Linked DNA regions of Homo sapiens: region 1 is linked to region 2. Evidence: promoter capture Hi-C in human tissues and cell types (Jung and others, 2019). All regions are on one chromosome and are shown on one strand. The core of a region is centred on a gene start or on the middle of the fragment in contact, and the rest is flanking DNA. Distances in the headings are between cores, read along the strand shown.

Region 1 (3,342 bases), core at 142-2,641, 660 kb after region 2:
TGCAGAAAGAGCCAGACGGGAAAGCGTGACACAAGGTTAGTCCTCTCAGGAGACATTCTAGCTGAGACTGTGTGGCTTAAGCACCTCAAAGGTAAAAAAAACTGCCTAACGAAGAAAATATGGCAAGGGCATTTGTCAAGGAAAAATCAAAGTTCTCTTTTCCTCTACTCTCACACTCAATGCAGACCACTTCGGTGGCCAGATGCATGGGTGTCCTCCCACACACCGAGCAATTCTCCAGCAGACACCAACTGGGTGTCCTGTATTTTAATTCTATGCTGACTCCTTCTACCTGGAGTTAGACTCAGATCCCACAGTCTAAGGGCTCAGTCTCAGAAGGCTGCCCCCACTTCAGATACCAATTACAAGTAGTAAGTTGCCATCTATGCGTCTGACCCATCAGCTGTAAGTTGGGATTCCCACCACTCCCTTGGGTTTGCTTAATTTGCTAGGATGGCTCACAGAACTCACGGAAGCATGTTTACCATTTTATTATAAAGGATGTCATCATGGACACAGATGGACAGCCAGAGGAGGAGAGTCACAAGGTAAGGTTTGGGGTGGAGCCTCCATGCCCTTTCTGGGTGTGCCCCCCTCTCAGCACCTCCAAGGGTTCAGCAACCCAGAAGTTCATCAAATCTTGTTGCTGAAGAGTTTTTACAGAGCCTAGTTTCCAGCCTGCCCCCTACTCCTTCCCAGAGGTCTTCAAGGGGCTGAGAGTTCAACTCATTTGGCCTATCTGGGGACCAGCCCCATCCTGAGAAGATCTAGGGGCCCTAGAAGTCCTTCATTAGCATAAATTCAGGTGTCATGGAAAGGGGCTGATTATGAAAAAGAAAAGATGCACCTATCACTCAGAAATTTTCAAGGGTCTTAGGAGCTCTAAGACAAGAACTGGAAAAAGATCACAAGTAGATTTCTTGTTACACCACAGCATTCACAATGTTAGTGTCCACTCACTTATACCACAGCATTCATTACATTAGTGTTCACTCACCACAGCATTCATCACATTTGTGTTCACTCACTTATTACCTATTAATGTGTAGATTTAACGAGCATTGGACTAGGCCACAGAGGCTCAGAAATAAATGACAAGGCGTGGGTCTTGCTGGGGTTCCTGAGGATGTGAGAAGCAGATGCACAGCCCTGGCATGGGAGTTGGGGTCTTGGGGAAGGCAAGTCCAAGCAGAGCCTGCGGGAACCCCGAGGGGCAACATGGATTTCTGGGGACAGGGAGCAGTAGGTTAATGTTTTTCCCTCTGTGATGTTTGTTTGCTTCATGAATTAGGACTAATCTTTATAAAACCTCTGCAAAGGCTTCCGTGGTCCTGTGAAAATCACCCACCATGGTTATGAAGCTTCCAGGAAAACTCACATGCACACAAACTCAATTTTAAACTATTAAAATGAGAATTAATGAGATAATATGTGTGAAATGCAAAGTGGTCTAGGTTGTATAAATTCAGGGAATAATTATGACTGTCATTCCTAATGCATCCATTCGTATGTTTGTAATTGCTCAATTCTTCAACGTTCTTCAGAGTTTTAATTTTTTTTTGTTTTTTTTTTTTACGTCCTGCACGCTCCTCTTCTCATCCCAGTATGAAACCAGCAGACTCATTTTACAACCTTGTTTTGGCAGAGGAGGCCCAAGAGCCTGGCCTCTTTCCCAAGCCGCCACAAAGATATCAGCTTTGGAAATGTGCCCAAAGCTCGTAGCTGGAATGACCTGCACGGAGTCCTAGGAAATAAGCAGGCTTGGACCCAACCCAGCCAGAAGGTCATTCCCCACCCGCTGGTCTCCCCGCCGTGCTTTGGAGCCACAGTCACCTCCAGAGTGTCTTGGTTGCTACCACTATTCTGACCCCAGTTTTTTGTTTTTGTTTTAAAGCCCTTAAGGAGGCACAGCTCTCCCCAGAAGGGCTAATTCCTTGTCTCACAGCAAGACAATTTGTATGAATTTTCACTAAATCTCACCATGGCCTTGACTCCCCACCAGGAAGGGCAACTTTATTTCCCAGTTTCCAGGCTCTGGAAGGCTGTGGATGCCACCAGTATCTCTTTTGTTTTTAAACACCATGTGAGGGTGGTGGGGATTTACAGGGACCACATCTCAAGTACTTGAAACTTGTAAAGGTTCTTTTTATAAATGATTCTTTATCTGGTGACTGTTTGCATTGTGGTTTCTAAATTTGGAGTCCCTTGCATTGTTGCTCACTGCATTTTTAATTGACAGATTTTTGTTGGCCGTCTATTGTGCCCTCAGCTCTCGTTACTCATGCACAGATGTAGAGAGTAGGTGTTTGCTTTGAGGAGTTTAGACTCTTGCAGGGGAGAGCCTGTGTGACGCACCTGTCTGTCTCTCCCTCATAGCAGTGAATCATGTGCTGCCTTGATTTAAGTGCCTGTCTCGTCTGTGAGCTGCCCAGGGACGAGGGCCGTACCATTCTGTTTCTGCGCCTAGCCCACTGCCTGACGCAGAGCTCACACTCCAGAGATATGGGCCAAATGGATGGGGAAAGGTGTCTGTGGTGTTATGTGGGCACTTTCTCTGGGGCACAGCACCACGTACTGGGTGTGCAGTTTGGGGTGGAGTGCAGCCCGGCAGCTGGGAATTGGCAGCACTGATCACAGCCATTCCCCCAAGCCCCCCACCTGTATTCCCTGTTGCCTCAACCTGTTAGGTAAGCAGTGGTGCCATGGCTTTTCCCAGAATGCTCTGAGGGAGGAAACACATCCCTGTATAATTCTCTCCTTTCGAAATTAGCTGTTTTCAAGGCAGCATTGTTTGTCAACTGCAAGAAATCGGGCAGGAGGGCTTATCACTCAGAGCTATTTTTCAGGCTGAAGGACACAGCCAAACAGCATCCCCAGAGCCGGCAGCGCACTGTGAAAGGAGCCATGGCTGCCATCAACTCCAGGCACTCACAGTGCCTGATGACGGTCTGGCCTGGTTCATGAGGCAGGAGGCTCAGGGCTTCCCAGGGGGTTGGGAATGCCCTTTGCAGGTTCCCATTGTGCGCCATGCACCATGCCAAGTACCCTCCACCTGCATCATCCACCACTTTCAGGGCCTGCTGAGGTAAGGCAAGAGTGCTGCCCTGGGTGTGAAATGTAAGGAGACCCTCACTCTTAGGCTCCTGCAAGTGCAGGGCTGGCTACTGTCAGTTTTTGTGCCCCAGGCACCTCTCTTGCCTCACCTTAGCATCTCCCCTTCCAGAAAACATCCCTGCAAGGTAGATATGATTATACTCATTTACTAATGAGGAAATGAGCTTTGGAGAGTGGCTTAGTTTATCCAAGGACACAAAGGTCGCAGAGCCTGGAGTTAGCCTCCCA
Region 2 (2,932 bases), core at 318-2,817:
CACTGCTGACTTTGAAGATGCTTTGGGATGCGAAGGTGGAAGATGGGCTGCGCCACAGGGCGGCGCCCTGCGCGAGTGAAGCCCGCTGCTTCCCTCCCTGGGTTAGCCTTCGCCGCCCCGGGCGCGAGCCGGGCGCGCGCCGGTACCGCGTGGGCGGCGGGTTACCTTGCTCCGGGCGCCCGGCACGCTGAGCGCCAGCTCGTGCAGCAGCTCCCGGGGTGGCTCCTTGAGGTACCACCACTGAATCTCCAGCGAATACGAGGTGGCTCCGCTGGCCCGGAACGCGCAGGGCATTTCGATGTCGTCTCCCTCCCGTACTGTCACATCTTTGGGGACTTCTGTGAATGCAGCTGGGGGTGGGGAGAGAGAGAGAGGCGTGACCAGCTGTAGGTCGGGGGCCTGGGGCAACCTAAAGCGAGGCAGTCGGTCTCTGGCTGGCTGGCCTTGTGCCCCCCACCCCGCAGCTGCTCCCTGGCGCACGGCCGGAGGGGCTAGCAAAGTTCGGGGAAGCGGCTGCAGGGCCGAGGCAGGGACCGGCCATCGGCTGCCTACTGCTTCCCTCCGGATGGGGCGGGGCGGCAGGGGCGACTCGTGCTTCTCCCCCGCCCCTGGCCGCACCGCCAGAGCCTGGCTGGGGCGCGCCTACTCCCGCTCCCCGCAGGCATCCTTTCCGCAGCCGGGGCCCCGGCGGGACTGGGAACGACTCGGGCGCGGCGCTGCTGCTGCGGCGACCCTTCGCCGCTCGCCTCTCCCTACCCCTCCGGGCCCAGGCTGCACAGCGGGATTGCTGGAGACCGCGAAGCTTCCCGGTTCGTTCTCTTTCTTCTTCTTCTCGGTGGCGGCCCCAGCAAAGACCCCCCCGAGTCCACAGCGGCAGCAAAGTTCCCGCGCTCACCGTCGGCCACGAAGAGCAGCAGGGCATGCAGCAGCAGAGGCGGCAGGTATCCGAGGGCACCGAGCCGGTTCCGCTGTTCCATCTCCCGCGGGGGGCGCGGTGGCGGCGGGGGCCCGGGAGCGGAGAGGCGGCGGCCGCGTGGGCTCGGATCGGCTCCGGCTCGGGCTAGGACGCCTCCGAGCCTGCCATGGCCCCGCGCGGCGCCCCCTCCCCTGGCCGCCGGCGGCCGCCAATCAGCCCCGCTCCCTCGCCGGCTTGCCCGGTGCGGCTCCGGCGGGGGGCGCTGCGCGGGGTGTGCAGGAGACGCGGTCCCACCGGGAGGCTGCTGGCGATCGGTCAGTGCCTCTCTCTGTCCGGTCGTCCACAGGACGGTGGGGATCCGCGGTTCAGTCTCTGCCCGGCGGGCCGGGCAGGGGCTGGGCCGCGCCGGGACCCATCCCTGGCCGAGGGAGTGCGTGCCACGGAGCCGCGAGCTTCTGCCTCCCTGTCTCCTTCTGGTTCTGCTCCCGATTGCCACCTCCTTCGGCTCCCGCAGCCGCCCCCGCCGGTTCCTCCGCGGCTCTTTCCGCAGGGCGAGTGGGCGCTCAGCCGCGGCGCGCAGACCTGGCGTCCGACCCAGCGCAGCGCGGGGAGAGCGGGTCCGGCGTGGCGGACCCGGAGCCGGAGAGAGGCGGGGAGAGGGGGAGGGGAGGGGAAGGGAGGGGGCGGTCAGTGGCTGGGCGCCAAGCCGCCTCCACCGCTGCATCGCCCCCGCCCTCCCCTCTCCTGCCACAGCCCGCCCCGCCCCCGCCCCAGAGCGCTCCCCCTCTCTCCTCGGGGGTCGCTCGGAGGGACCACCGTCTTTCTGGTTGGAGTACAGCCCCGCCCCGCACCCGCTTGGGTTGGGAGTCCTCCCACCCAAACTCTCCCTGGCTTCTTCCCAGTCTGCACGGCTCGAGACGGCCGCTCATCCCTGCTCCCCGTGTGTCCCTCGGTCCTCTCTGCAGCTCCCAGCCCTCAACTCCTTACCCCAGTTTGGGCAACCAGCTGCCCCGCTGTTTGGCCCAGGCCTGGGCCATGACGGATGGGTGGGCGCCCGGGGCCGCGAGAAGGGCGGAACGCTGTGCCCAGCCGGAGACTACGCTGGGTGGCGGCGGCAGCGCCGGGAGTCTGCAGTGCGCGAGGGAGAAGTGAGCGCACAGCGCCCAGCGAGCAGGTGCCTGCGGCGCGGAGAGCGCACACGCTAGCCAGCCCGCAGCGGCCGTGAGTGACGGCAGGGGCGGCGGGGGTGGGGTGGGGTGGGGAGCGCCGGGCACGACTCAGGGCCCGGGAGGTTTCCGGGAGGGGGCGGGGTTCCTGCCCCTGGATCGCGGGTCCCTGTGTCTCCACGCGCTCTTCGCCGGTCGTGGCCCCTTCTTTGCCCGGTGCAAAGCGAGATGCCGAGGCGGCAGGAAGCCGGAACCCATCCCCCGCCTGCTCTGGCGTACTCGGCATCCCGGTACCTCCCCCAGCCTTCACCCGGAGTCTGCTCCCTCCCCAGCCATCTGAGGGAGCGCGGTCTGGTCCCCGAAGGCAAATGCGGGGTGGACATGTGGTTCGGACGCAGCGCGTAGTCATAGTCATAGGGGCGAGTCCTAAGGCTCGCCTTGGGTCTCTCCTATCTCCTTCCCCCGGGAGTCCCCAGCTAGTGCGTTTCGGCACCTCTGCCCCTACCCCGGCCCCTACGCCTCAGCTCTGACCTCAGGTTGGGGTGGGGCAGCCCGGTGGATTCACGTGCCTGCTTCCCCGGCTACCAGCCTCCCGGAGGCACCGCCAGAGGATTCCCTGGGAGCCAAGGAGAAGGAAACCCAGAGGGAAAACACTCTCCAGCAGCCACCCTGGTCCAGGCGGCCAGCGCAGCACAGCTCAGAGGGGAGGAGCTGCAGGCCCTCTCCAAGGCTGTCCTCGCCAGCGGGTGCCCGGGGCCAGCCCTTCTTGCCTCCAGTGCCTGCCTTTCAGTTTCCTCGTCTATGGCCCAGGAGTCACTCCCACCCCCTGGCTCACTGTGGCTCATCTATC

Evidence for each region. The method cuts DNA at HindIII sites, captures the fragments that hold promoters and counts their contacts. A contact is called where the count stands out against the background at its distance.
Region 1: a contact is called between a fragment that was not itself captured here and the fragment with the promoter of VSTM2B in region 2, in 1 of the 25 tissues and cell types used here (dorsolateral prefrontal cortex).

What each region holds. Positions count from the first base shown.
Region 1 is chr19:28,863,231-28,866,572 of GRCh38, reverse strand. No RefSeq gene overlaps it. Among named protein-coding and RNA genes, the nearest start is that of LINC00906, 100 kb to the left of the region's middle. The HindIII fragment of the contact is 9,131 bases long and covers 1-3,342 here.
Region 2 is chr19:29,524,629-29,527,560 of GRCh38, reverse strand. VSTM2B (V-set and transmembrane domain containing 2B) reads right to left here and starts at 1,567. Exons shown (of 5, transcript NM_001146339.2): 1 at 896-1,567; 2 at 166-350. The coding sequence starts at 977. VSTM2B-DT (VSTM2B divergent transcript) reads left to right here and starts at 1,811. Exons shown (of 10, transcript NR_040029.2): 1 at 1,811-2,137. The region is part of intron 1 of LOC124904683 (a long non-coding RNA gene); the gene reads left to right. The HindIII fragment of the contact is 17,468 bases long and covers 1-2,932 here.